5 separate regions of the Homo sapiens genome follow, and regions 2, 3, 4 and 5 are each linked to region 1. The links are contacts of gene promoters, found by promoter capture Hi-C in blood cells and fetal thymus (Javierre and others, 2016). All regions are on one chromosome and are shown on one strand. Each heading gives the region's core, a stretch centred on a gene start or on the middle of the fragment in contact. The rest is flanking DNA. Distances are from core to core; before and after follow the strand shown. Region 1 holds the start of TMEM121B (transmembrane protein 121B). Region 2 overlaps CECR2 (CECR2 histone acetyl-lysine reader). Region 3 overlaps CECR2 (CECR2 histone acetyl-lysine reader). Region 4 overlaps CECR2 (CECR2 histone acetyl-lysine reader). Region 5 overlaps CECR2 (CECR2 histone acetyl-lysine reader).

Region 1 (2,590 bases), core at 43-2,542:
GACGGAAGCCCGTGGTGCCGAAGGGCGCGCGTAGCTCGATGAGGTCTAGGATGGACGTGCCCAGGATCAGCACCACCTTGGGAGTGAAGGCGATGGAGTAGATAAGCCAGGCCAGGTAGGCGAAGGCGAACTCGCCCGCTGCCGCGGCCGCCCCCAGGCCGCCCCCCGCGCCGCCGGCGCCCCCGCGGGCTCCGCGTGCCTTGGCCCCAGCGGTAGCGGCCGAGGGGGCGGGCAGATGCAGGGGCGGCGCGGCGTGGTGGTGGTGCAGGTGGTGGTTGTGCGCGCCGCTGGCTGCGCCGCCCCGACGGCCCCGGCTGTTCTTGGCGAAGAAGATGGCCCAGCCCACCACCACCACCAGGTCAGTGGCGATCCAGGAGCACCAGTACAGGTCGGTGACGGCGATGAGGTACAGGTCCAGCAGGCCGCCCTGCGCCAGCAGCAGCACCACGGACAGCGCCTGGTAGCCCCAGCGGCACCTGGGACTGGGGGCGCAGCCGCGGCGCCGACCTCTGCGGCCGGGGCGGTCTGGGCAGCCGCAGCAGCAGCAACACGGGCAGCAGGAGGCGCCGCTGCCGGTCCCGGTGCCGCCCGCGCCCCCCGCCGAGCGGCTCCCGGGGCCCCCGACGGCCCCGGCCGCGGCGCCCCCGCCGAAGTCCGCGGCTGTCATGCTGCAGGAGGAGGTGGGCGTGGAGGTGGAGGAGGAGGTGGCCGCTGAGGAGGAGAAGGCGACAGGCGCGGGGCCGGCGGGGGCGCCCACCTGAGCCGGCGGCCCCAGGAGCGCGGCGTTGGGCACCAGCGGCTTGCTGACGCTGAGGCTCTCGTCGTCGTCCTCGCGCTCGGCGCCCGTGCTGCTGCTCGGGGAGCCGCCGCCCCCGCCGCGTCTGCCGCCGCCTCCCCCGCGGCTGGTGCTGGTGCTGGTGCTGCTGTCGCCGGAGCCTCTCCGGCCGCGGAAGGAGCCCCCGCGGAGGAAGAGGGGCTGCAGCCGGGCGGCTGCCGGGGGCGGCGGGAAGGAACCGGACGCGGAGGAGACCGAGCGAGGGTGGCCGAGCGCCGGGCGCATTGTCCTCCGAGGGGCTCTGGGGCCGCCCAGCTGTTCCCTCCCCGCCAACCCCGGGCGGGCGAGGCGGGCTAGGCGGCCGAGGGGAGCCGGGGCCCGCCGCCTCCCCAGCAGTGGGGACTCGCACCTGGGCCGGGCGGCGGCGAGATCCGGACTGGAGCCACTGGACTGGGCGAGCCGGGCCGGGCGGCAGGGAGAGGGGGCAGGCGGTGAACCGAGCGGACCGCGGTGAAGACAGGCGAGGCGGGGGCGGGGCGGGGCGGGGCGGGGAGCGAGTCCCGCCGGGAGGGAGGGAGGCTGGCGGCGGGGAAACCAGGACTGGATTCGAGGGGGAGAGGAAGCAGCGAGACCAGAGGAGGAGAAAGCGCGGCGCGCTGGATCAACGGGAAGAGAAGGGGCGGGGGTGCAGTGCGTCACAGTCGGGTCGGGAGCCCTGTGGCCTGGAGGAAGCGGGAGGAGGCGCGGGCAGCCGCCAGGGCGAGGCGACCCGGTGCGGGGGGACTCCCATGGAGCGCGGACTCCTAAGGAAGTCGCTGGGAATCCCACCGGCTGTACCGCAGGGCGTTAGTACCTAGATGGCTTCGGTGCCCCCAAGCGATGGGCTCAAGCTACAGGGCGGGCTTTGCACCTGGCCTTCTCAGCTCTGAGGCAGGCAGTGGGCAGCTTCGCCTCCACCCTCCGTCCAGCGCCCTTCCCATGGGGCCATCCGCCTCTCCCTAAGGCACTAAAAACCAGTGGAGGAGTCAGGCCATGTTGGCAAAAAGGGCTCGGGCAGCAGCCCCAGACCTATAGTCCTAAATATCCATGTACCCAGCCCTGGGGTCGCGAGCCATCTCAGGGACGACCCGATTCCAGCGGATGGAGAAGTTCCCTGAAAACACCTGCCTGGGAGGAGAGACGAGGGAACGAGATTGGGCAAGTGGCATCCGCCCAGCGGGCTTCTCAAAGGTTTTTAAAGCAGAATGGGACGTAATAGGAAGATGTGTCTAGCAGAGAGTAAAATAAAGGGGCATTTAGAGGTGTGGGCACCTGGATGAAAACAAAGGCTCCAAAGGGATGATGGTGAGGGTTACAGCCCACCACAGTAGACAGAGACACCAAGGAAGGAATGCAGTCAGTGGCCCTGCGTAGACAGTCTCAGGAGAGAGCACACCAGCTCACCCCAGGACTCATCCAAGGCTGGGGATGGATGTCGATGCAGCAACTCTGGAAGGCAGAAGGTAGAGTGCTGCCTTTAGGGGTTTAAGGGAGAAGGAAATGACTAGAGCAGTTGGGGCTCAAAAACAATCTGAGGTTCACCAATAATGGAAACATCCCATTCCCAGCCCCATGAAAACAAGGCAGAAAGCTTGCCTGCCCTATTGGCCTCTGCACCCTTGTGGGGCCTGTGGGCTCCCTGATTTCATGACCTTTGAAGCTGCTGCTGCGGGCTCATCTCCCCTAGGTAACAGCTTGCAGCGTGATAACACCATGCAGTGTGAGGGAGCTGTATGCAGTGGAGCCGCAGGGGTTAGTCAGGCCTCGCCCCTAAAT
Region 2 (2,590 bases), core at 53-2,552, 410 kb after region 1:
AGGAGAATCGCTTGAACCCAGGAAGTGGAGGTTGCGGTGAGCCAAGATCGTGCCATTGTACTCCAGCCTGGGCAACAAGAGTGAAACTCCATCTCCAAAAAAAAAAAAAAAAAAAAAAAAAAAAAGAAAGGAAGGGAGGGAGGGAAAAGAAAAGAAAGAAAGAAATGATGGCTGGGCACAGTGGCTCACGCCTGTAATCCCAGCACTTTGGGAAGCCAAAGTGGCCGAATCACTTGAGGTCAGGAGTTTGAGACAGCCTGGCCAACATGGCCAAACGTGGTAGCTCACGCCTGTAATCCCAGCTACTCAGGAGGATGAGGTGGGAGAATTGCTTGAACCCCGGAGGTGGAAGTTGCAGTGAGCCGAGATCGTGCTACTGCACTCCAGCCTGGGCGACAGAGCAAGACTCTGTCTCAATAAAAAAAACAACCCTTAGTGCATATAATCTACAGGTTTAGCCTGTGTCATACTATGTAGTATATCTCACTTGTAAGATCTTCCATAATTGGCTATGTCCAGTGCCACATTTAAATTCCTCAGGACATAATAACTGGCTTTTATTTGTTTATATTTTTTAGTGGAATTGTGTTTTTTTATTTAATAGGGTCCTTATTGGGTACACCTGTCATTTTAATTTATATAGGCAGGTCCAAAACTCATTTTTATGGCTCAGTTTCTGTAATGTAAGATTAATAATGCCTGTATTGTAGTCCCATCTACAGAAGTCACAAATAAAATTAAATCCTAGGAATTAACCAAAGAAGTGAAAGAGCTCTATAATGAAAACTATAAAACATGGAGGAAACAAATTGAAAAGAACACCCAAAAACTGGAAAGCTTTCTACGTTCATGGATAACAAGAATCAGTATTCTTAAAATGTCCATAGTACTCAAAGTAATCTACAGATTCAATGCAATGTCTACCAGAATACCAATGACATTCTTCACAAAAATAGAAAAAAAAATCCTTTAATTTATATGGACCCACAAAAGACCCAGAATAGGCAAAGCTATCCTAAGCAAAAATAACAAACCTGGAGGAATTACCTGACTTCAAATTGTATTTCAGACCTGTGGGGACCAAAACAATATGGGGATCTGGCATAAAAACCAACACACAGACAAATGGAACAGAATAGAGAATCCAGAAACAAGTCCACACACGTACAGCGAACTCATTTTCAACACACGTGCTAAGAACATACACTGGGGAAAAGAGTCTCTTCTACAAGTGGTGCTGGGGAAACTGGATATCCATAAGCAGAAGAATGAAACTAGACCCCTATCTCCTGCCACATACAAAAATAAAATCAAAGTGGATTAAATAATTATATCTAAGGCCGGGCGTGACGACTTATGCCTGTAATCCCAGCACTTTGGGAGGCCAAGGCGGGTGAATTACAAGGTCAAGAGTTCAAGGCCAGCCTGGCCAAGGTGTTGAAACCCCGTCTCTACTAAAAATACAAAAATTAGCCGGGCACGGTGGCAGGCACCGGTAATCCCAGCTACTCAGGAGGCTGAGGCAAGAAAATCGCTTGAACCTGGGCAGCAGAGGTTGCAGTGAGCTAAGATTGCATCACTGCACTCCAACCTGTGTGACAGAGTAAGACTCCATCTCAAAAAAAAAAAAAAAAAAAAAAGAATTATATCTAAGACCTCAAATTATGAAACTCTACAAGAAAAAACGTTGGAGAAACCCTCTAGGACATTGATTTCAAGCACAGGCACCCAAAGCAAAAATGGACAAATGGGATCACATCAAGTTAAAAAGCTTCTGCACAGCAAAGGAAACAACCAGCAAAGTGAAGAGACAACCCACAGAATGGGAGAAAACATTTGCAAACTGCCCAGTTGACAAAGGATGAATAACCAGAATGTAGAAGGAGCTGAAATAACTCTTAGGAAAAAGTCTAATAATCGGATATTAAAATGGGCAAAATATTTGAATAGAGATTTCTCAAAAGAAGTCATACAAATGCAGACGAGGCCAGGCATGTTGAGTCATGCTTGTAAGCTCAGCACTTTGGGAGGCCAAGGCTGGCAGATTGTTTTAGCACAGGAGTTCAAGACCAGCCTCGGCAACACGGTAAAACCCCATCTCTACAAAAAATACAAAAATTAACCGAGCATGGTTGTTCATACCTGTAGTGCCAGCTACTTGGGAAGCTGAGATGGGCAGATAGCTTGAGCCTGGGAGGTCCAGGCTCCAGTGAGCTGAGATCATGCCACTGCACTCCATCCTGGGCAATAGAGCGAGACCCTGTCTCAAAAAAATAAAAATAAATTAAAAAACAAGCCAGGTGTGGTGGCTCATGCTTGTAATCCCAGCACTTTGGGAGGCCGAGGCGGGCAGATGACTTGAGATCAGGAGTTCAAGACCAACCTGGCCAACATGGCAAAACCCTGCCTCTACTAAAAATACTAAAATTAGCTAGGCATGGTGGCACACGCCTGTAATCCCAGCTACTCAGGAGGCTGAGGCAGGAGAATTGCTTGAACCTGGGAGACAGAGGTGGCAGTGAGCAGAGATCAAGCCAAGACTTCATTCCAGCCTGGGCAATACAGCAAGATTCTGTCTCAAAAAAAAAAA
Region 3 (2,590 bases), core at 48-2,547, 390 kb after region 1:
TACCTGATTGTGTCCTCTTCACCAAATTCAGGGCAAGCTATAGTCTCATAAACCATATGCCCCATATTATCATGCATGTACACCCTACTTCATGCATTTTCAAACATCCTTCATCCTCTTTTTCCTTTTTTTTTTTTTTTTTTTTTTTGAGTCTCTCTCTGTCTCCCAGGCTGCAGTGCAGCGGTGCAATCTGAGTTCACTGCAACCTCTGCCTTCCAAGTTCAAGCGATTCTCCTGCCTCAGCCTCCTGAGTAGCTGGGATTATAGGCTCACACCACCACCACGCCCAGCTAATTTTTTGTGTTTTTAGTAGAGACAGGGTTTCACCATTTTGACCAGGCTGGTCTAGAACTCCTGACCTCAAGTGATATACCGCCTCAGCCTCCCAAAGTGCTGGGATTACAGGTGTGAGCCACTGCACCCGGCTTTTTTTTTTTTTTTTTTTTTTTTAAGGACAAGCTCTCTCACTTTGTCGCCCAGACTGGAATGCAGTAGTGTGGTCACAGCTCACTGTAGCCTCGATTTGCCAGGCTCATGTGATCCTCTCATCTCAACCTCCCAAGTAGCTGGGGACACAGGCTCGTGCCACCACACCCAGCTAATTATTTTTTATTTTTTGTAGAGACGAGGTCTTGCTCTGCTGCCTAGGCTTGTCCCAAACTCCTAGCCTCAATCTATCCTTCTGTCTTGGCTTCCCAAAGTGCTGGGATTATAGGCATGAGCCACTGTGCCCAGCTTTTATTGCTTTAAGACAGGGTCTTGCTCTATTTCCCAAGCTGGAGTACAGTGGTGCAGTCATAGCTCACTGCAGCCTCAATCTCCCAGGCCGAAGTGATCCTCTCGAGTAGCTGGGCCTGCAGGCACATGCCACCACGCCTGGCTAATCTTTTAATTTTATCTGTGCGTAGGGTTTCCCTATGTTGCCTGGGCTGGTCCTGAACTCCTGGGCTGAAGCACTCTTCCTGTCTTGGCCTCCCAAAGTGCTGGGATTACAGGTGTGAGCCACCACACCTGGCCCCCTCTCTACTTCCTTACCCATTTAAATACTACTCTCTCAAAAGCCTTACTTAAATGTCACTACGTCCATGAACTGTCCTTGTTTCCCCCAGCCTTTTGTCGCTTAACATGTTTCTTTATGCTTATTTTATATCTTTGTGAGTTCAGGCTTCTTCATCTCAAGGACCATGTCTTATCTTTTTAACAGCCACGACACTTAATGTCATTTCTTTTCATGTTTTTTTGTTTGTTTGTTTGTTTGTTTTGAGACAGAGACTCGCTCTGTCACTCAGGGTGGAGTGCAGTGGCACAATCTTGGCCCCCCGCAGCCTCCACCTCCTGGGTTCAAGCGATTCTCATGCCTCAGCCTCCCAAGTAGCTGGGACTATAGGCGTGCGCCACCATGCCTGGCTAATGTTTTTATATTTTTAGTAGAGATGGGGTTTCGCTGTGTTGGCCAGGCTGGTCTTGACTCCTGGCCACAAGTGATCCACCCACCTTGGCCTCCCAAGTGTTATGATTACAGGCGTGAGCTACCACGTTTAGCCTGCCTTGCCTTTTCTATGGTGGTTGGTTGATAATTATTCAGTTTGCTTATTTCATATCGATAATAATATTTCTGATTATTGATACATGTTAATAGAGGACCAGAAATATTTGACCACTTGCCAGTGAAATATGAAGAGAAAGTATTTGTAAATCATCACTGCAGTACCTACAGGGAGGCAAACATGTCAAATGTATTATTTAATTTATTGTAGATCTGGTGCTGTGTCTAACCCTTAAGCAGGTTGATGCTTTAGGGAAAGTCCTAGAAATTACCTTTCTCTAATAACGGGAACTTACAAACAGTGCTTCAAGACTTCCGCCGTCCTGGATGATCCAGAAAACCTCCGTTTCACCATCGGTGTACTTAAGTTCATGTACGATAATTGCATTCTGTTTTTGTGATCAGCAATTCACTGCAACAATTTTTCTAGGAATTAAAATATATAATCTAATTTTCTTAAAGTAACAATGATGTAAAGAGATAGTTTTTATGACTTTGTGTAACCTTGCATATGACTTTATTGATATCATCAGTCATGGCACATTAAATTATCTGGAAATATACCCAGTCACCTTAAGCCTTCTTTTATCATTTCTGCTTTTTTACTGCTATATTCAGCCTAACATTTTGGGGGATAGAAGAATTAAGGGGAAAAAAAACTTAAAGCATAAAACTGATGATTTTGATTAAAAATTTCAAGCATTGATTCTTTTCAAAAGGAGAAAAATTCAAATAAGGTAACCCTTAAATAGGGTAATCTTTAAATACAATTTTCAAGAACCATGGAGTTGCAGACCAGAAAGAAATAATGGATTTGATATTTTCAAAGAAATAGATAGTGCTTTTAAGTTCAAAAACCTCAATGAAGTCCTATTAACCAGAAGAATAGTATAGTAAGAAAAATCTAAATTGGGAAGTAGAAAATCTTAGCAGACTAATAATTAGGGAGTTCTCACAGAAGGATCGATTTATTCACAGGTAAAGTTTTCTAAACCTTCAAGGAAAAGATAACTTCCAAACATTTCCAAAATGAAAGAAATAACT
Region 4 (2,590 bases), core at 29-2,528, 370 kb after region 1:
CAGGTGATCTGCCCCCCCTTGGCCTCCCAAAGTGCTGGGATTACAGGCGTGAGCCACCGCACCCGGCCTCATTTAATTTTTAATTATGGATCTAGCATTGCGTAATAGATTCCCTAATTTAGATCCCTTATAAACAAACATTTAGTGTTTTGGGTTCTCTTTACAGAAATATCTGTCATCTTTTTGGAAATGACAATACTTCTGTTAAGTACGTTCATCGTGTCTTTTTTAACATAGGCCAGTGTTTTGTAACAAATGAGGGCACCACATAGTCACTATCCTACTGAAGAAAATAGACATTTCTGTCTTCCCAGAAAGTTTCCTTTGTAGTCAGTCTTCCCCATACCTACATTGTACACCTGGCAACCACTGACGACATTTTTATCACTATAGTTGGAGCCTAACCTGTTCTAGAACTGTATGAATGGGATCACACAGTGTGAAATGAACTCACATCAGCTTCTTTCATTCACATAGTGCCTGTATGATATTCACCCATGCCATTGTTTGTATCAGTGGTTTATTCCTTTGAGGGGGGTGGGGGACTAAATTGTATCTAGTGAAAAATATATCACAATTTATTGAATCTGTTCTTGGGATGAGCACTTAGGTTGCTTCCAGTTGGAGCCTATTATGAATGAAGCTGCTGTGAACATTTGCATACAAATGCTTGTGTGCACTTAATTTCATTTCTCTTGGGAATTGCTGGCGGGTCACATGGTAAAAGTATGTTTGACTTAAACTGTGAAATTATTTTCCAAACACTTGCAACATTTACGTTTCCACCAGCAATATCTGAACAGTCCAGTTGCTTCATATCTTTTTAAATTTTTATTTACTTATTTATTTGTTTGAGACAAGAGTTTTGCTCTTTTTGCCCAGGCTGGAGTGCAATGGTGCTATCTCTGCTCACTGCAACCTCCACCTCAAGTGATTCTCCTGCCTCAGCCTCCCAAGTAGCTGGGATTACAGGCATGCGCCAGCTAATTTTTTGTATTTAGTAGAGACGGGGTTTCACCATGTTAATCAAGCTGGTCTTGAACTCCTGACCTCAGGTGATCACCCGCCTCGGCCTCCCAAAGTACTGGGATTACAGGCATGAGCCACCTCGCCCGGCCTAGTTACTTCCTATCTTTGCCAACATCTGCTGTTTTTAATTTTACTAATCCTATTGTGTTGAAAGTGGCAGCTCATTGTGGGTTTAATTTGCATTTCCCCGATGACTAGTAATGTGGAGTGGTTATTCATGTGCTTACCATAAATTTGTATATGTCTTTTTTGGTGAAATATTTGGCCAAGTGTTTTACTTATTTCTTTTAAATTAGGGATGCTTATTTAATTTATTTATTGACTTTTTTGAGACAGGGTTCCCACTCTGTTACCCAGGCTGGAGTGCAGTGCTGTGATCATAGCCCACTGCAGCCTCGACCTCCTGGGCTCAAACAGTCCTCCGGCTTCAGCCTCCTGAGTAGCTGGGACTATAGGTATGCTCCATCACACCCTGCTTATTTAAAGCATATTTGTTGTAGAGACAGGTCTTGATATATTGCCCAGGCTGGTCTTGAACTCATGGCCTCAAGTTGTCCTCCAGCCTCAGCCTCCCAAAGTGCTGGAATTACAGGCGTGAGCAGCCATTCCAGGCCTTATCAACTTTTTAAATGTTTACTAAGGAACTGTTTTATATTATTAATTTTCTTTACTCTTTGCTTTTTTATTTTATTGATTTCTCTTTTTTATTTCCTCTGTTTACTTTGGCTTTAGCTTGCTCTTTTTTTTTTTTTGCTTCTTTGGAGTACTGTTTTTGAGCCTTTTTTCAAAAAACAGGCATTTAAAGCTATAAATTTTCCCTAAAAAACTTGTAAATTTCCTTCTAACCCATAGTTGGCTGCATCCTGCGAATTTTGATGTTTATATTATTGTTTAAAACATGCTCTCCTTTATTTCTTCTGTGACCCAAAAGTGTATTATTTAAATTCGTGATTTAGTATGTTAGTGGTAATACTGTTGAGATCTGTTCCTTACTGTTTTTTTTTTGTGTGTGTGTGTGTGTGTGTTTGGTCTATTAATGAGAAGCCAGTATTAAAATCTCTCTGATTGTGGATCTATTTCTCCCATTAGTTGTGCCCATTTTGTCTCATGGGTTGTGGTGTCCTGTTATTGGATGTGTAGCGGTAGCTTTGTTATATAGTCCTGGGAAGTTGTTCCATTTCTTCTTATGTGACACTCTGTCTCCACATCTGCTTTGTCTCATATTAATCCTCAGCTTTCTCATGCTTACTGTGCCTGGTAGATCATTTTCTATCCTTTTAATCTTTGTATTTTTATTTATTTATTTTTTGAGATGGCGTCTTGCTCTGTCACCCAGGCTGGAGTGCAGTGGTGTGATCTCAGCTCACTGCAACCTCCGCCTCCTGAGTGCAAGCAATTCTCCTGCATCAGCCTCCCGAGTAGCTGGGATTACAGGTGCATGCCACCACGCCCGGCTAATTTTTTTTTTATTTTTATTTTTTATTTTTAGTAGAGACAGGGTTTCACCATATTGGCCAGGCTGGTCTCAAACTCCTGACTTCATGATCTGTCCACCTCAGCC
Region 5 (2,590 bases), core at 36-2,535, 320 kb after region 1:
TTATTGATTTATTGATCTGATATCTGACTTGAAGTAATGAGAGGGAAGGTTGTATAGCATTATATAGCAAAGTGATGTAAGAAAACAAGAAAAACTTGATTTCAAGTCTCCGAACAGATTTATTAGAAACAGAAATTTGACTACCACCCTCTGATCCCTACCCCTCCACTCCTTTCTCAACATGATGATTATACAATCATTACAGACATCCCCTGTGTTTTCTGGGACTTTTTTTTAGTAACCAAATGTTCAAGAAAGTGTAGTGCCTTGTATCTGTTGATGATTATATTTCTAATTTCATGGGTATTCAGCTGACTGTCAGGTCTTATTAACACTGTTTTTGGGGGGGAGGGGCAGGGGGCAGGGGGCGGGATGGAGTCTCACTCTGTCACCCAGACTGGAGTGCAGTGGAGTGATCTCAGCTTACCACAACCCGGGTTCAAGTGATTGTCCTGCCACAGCCTCCAGAGTAGTTGGGATTACAGGTGCATGCCACCACGCCCGGCTAATTTTTATATTTTTAATAGAGATGGGGTTTCACCATGTTGGCCAGGCTGGTCTCGAACTCCTGACCTCAGGTGATCCGCCTGCCTTGGCTTCTCAAAAGTGCTGGGATTACAGGCGTGAGCCACCATGCCTGGCCTATTAACACATTAAAATGATGCGTGTTGAGGGAGCAAGTATACTGGTTGTTGTTGGGAATCTGGGATGGCCCTAGATAGATCTTTCCTGCTGCCAGATATAGGAGGAATATGATGGAACGCACAGCTGTGATACTGTACTAGGCTGATAATCTTAACACAGAGCCCTTCAATTTTATTTTAGTTTAGCAAATAATATTTGTATTGTAGTATGGTAATTTTAAATCACTCACCATGATTTGTATAGAATAGTGCGTCATTTATTCTAACGTGATGAAAGCTTTCTTTTAAAAAGTAGCCGGGGGAGATTGACTAGGGGTTAAATGCTTTCCCTGTGTCTTACTCTGTGGACCCCACCCCCCGTTACTTGAATGAATGAATGAATCCTTCTTTTTTGAGGATATTGCCAGAGGATAATAAGTTATCTAGATGTCTCAGTCCTGGATCTATGAATAGATTGTTTTTCCAGTCTTGATAGATTATTTCTGGTTTGAAGAATTTTACATGGAAACAAGATTAAGAAAGATGATAAATAATTGTTTGGCTAAAGTCCTTTATGAAACAGAATTTACAGAAATGTGATTAAGATGTATAACTCACCTTGTAAGAATTTCATGGAACATGTTGAAGTATAAAATAAAGTTCCATAGGGAGGTGATATCACACACCATACTCTGTCTTACAATTTTTGTCTCTCACAAGGAAAGGATTTGGATGTTCTGAACATATTTCTCTGCAGGAAGCGGGTGGCAGACCTGTTGACTTCATTTTCATTGACCATCTTCTACTAGAATCAAACTCTGGTCTCTTTGAAATTATACAAAGTTGGGAAGCTGTTTACATTATCAACAGCTTTACCTATTTTGAATTCAGAAGAAGATTCAAGGTGGGAAAGACAGAAAAAACCGCAAAACAAGAGCATGTCATACTAGAAGAGTTCCGTGTGAAATTCAGAATTTGGTCCCCTTAACACTATTCACTTTGGAGCTCATGGGAATCCATGGTGAGGGAAGCTTATTAAAAAATGCAGATCAGGCCAGGTGTGGTGGCTCACACCTATAATCCCAGAACTTCAGGAGGCCAAGATGGGAGAGGATAGCTTGAGGCTAGGAGTTCTGGAGCAGCCTGAGCAACATAGCGAGACCCCCATTTCTACAAATACATATATATTTTTAAATTAGTTGGGCGTAGTTGATGCACATCTTGTAGTCCTAGCTACTAGGGAGGCCGAGGCAGGAGGATCACTGGAGCCCAGGAGTTCAAGGCTTGCAGTGAGCTTTGATCACACCACAGGTTTTTTTGTTTGTTTTGTGTTTTTTGAGATGGAATCTCACTCTGTCGCCCAGGCTGGAGTGCAGTGGTGCGGTCTCAGCTCACTGCAGCCTCCACCTCCCGGATTCAAGCAGTTCTCTGCCTCAGCCTCCCGAGTAGCTGGGATTACAGGCGCCCGCCACCACCGCCTGGCTAATTTTTGTATTTTTAGTAGAGACGGGGTTTCACCATCTTGGCCAGGCTGGTCTTGAACTCCTGACCTCATGATCCACCCTCCTCGGCCTCCCAAAGTGCTGGGATTACAGGAGTGAGCCACCGCGCCTGGCCAATCACTAGATGATAGTAGTAATTCACAGGCTTCCCTAGAATCATTCACATTTTTGCTTCATGACTGAATGAGTCATAGGTGTTAATGGCATTTTGCATTTGCAGTTGTTTTATTTTTTAAACTTTATCTTGGAAGAAAACCCTTTCTTCTATTGGAATAGTGGAACCTTTTTCTATTCTTTCATCAGGCTCCATTTACTTGCTGTCCAGTCTGCCAGTGGTATGTCCTGGTGTGTTTCTTTGTACTGTTTGCTTCTGAGCGTCTCTTCCTGCCCTCTAGCTCGTTTTCTTAAAGGACAAACGAAACTTCTCAGCAGCCATTCTACAAATCCTTAAATCCATAATGCCCA

What was found. The method cuts DNA at HindIII sites, captures the fragments that hold promoters and counts their contacts. A CHiCAGO score of 5 or more calls a contact.
Region 2: a fragment that was not itself captured here is called in contact with the fragment with the promoter of TMEM121B in region 1 in 6 of 17 cell types (endothelial precursors, M0 macrophages, M2 macrophages and 3 more); the score reaches 9.2 in endothelial precursors.
Region 3: a contact is called between a fragment that was not itself captured here and the fragment with the promoter of TMEM121B in region 1, in 1 of 17 cell types (M2 macrophages). The highest score is 5.0, in M2 macrophages.
Region 4: a fragment that was not itself captured here is called in contact with the fragment with the promoter of TMEM121B in region 1 in 11 of 17 cell types (naive B cells, total B cells, M0 macrophages and 8 more); the score reaches 8.0 in naive B cells.
Region 5: a fragment that was not itself captured here is called in contact with the fragment with the promoter of TMEM121B in region 1 in 3 of 17 cell types (total B cells, naive B cells and total CD8 T cells); the score reaches 6.7 in total B cells.

What each region holds. Positions count from the first base shown.
Region 1 is chr22:17,120,068-17,122,657 of GRCh38, forward strand. It overlaps TMEM121B (transmembrane protein 121B), which reads right to left and starts at 1,293. Exons shown (of 1, transcript NM_031890.4): 1 at 1-1,293. The coding sequence starts at 1,060. It overlaps LINC01664 (long intergenic non-protein coding RNA 1664), which reads left to right and starts at 1,528. Exons shown (of 4, transcript NR_103793.1): 1 at 1,528-1,972. RefSeq lists a silencer at 1,005-1,134 and an enhancer at 1,720-2,251. The HindIII fragment of the contact is 5,742 bases long and covers 1-2,403 here.
Region 2 is chr22:17,525,191-17,527,780 of GRCh38, forward strand. All of the region lies in intron 9 of CECR2 (CECR2 histone acetyl-lysine reader), which reads left to right. Among named protein-coding and RNA genes, the nearest start is that of SLC25A18, 37 kb to the right of the region's middle. The HindIII fragment of the contact is 934 bases long and covers 836-1,769 here.
Region 3 is chr22:17,505,410-17,507,999 of GRCh38, forward strand. All of the region lies in intron 7 of CECR2 (CECR2 histone acetyl-lysine reader), which reads left to right. Among named protein-coding and RNA genes, the nearest start is that of SLC25A18, 57 kb to the right of the region's middle. The HindIII fragment of the contact is 8,417 bases long and covers 1-2,590 here.
Region 4 is chr22:17,488,115-17,490,704 of GRCh38, forward strand. The region is part of intron 2 of CECR2 (CECR2 histone acetyl-lysine reader); the gene reads left to right. Among named protein-coding and RNA genes, the nearest start is that of SLC25A18, 74 kb to the right of the region's middle. The HindIII fragment of the contact is 5,266 bases long and covers 1-2,590 here.
Region 5 is chr22:17,440,607-17,443,196 of GRCh38, forward strand. All of the region lies in intron 1 of CECR2 (CECR2 histone acetyl-lysine reader), which reads left to right. Among named protein-coding and RNA genes, the nearest start is that of CECR2, 72 kb to the left of the region's middle. The HindIII fragment of the contact is 733 bases long and covers 920-1,652 here.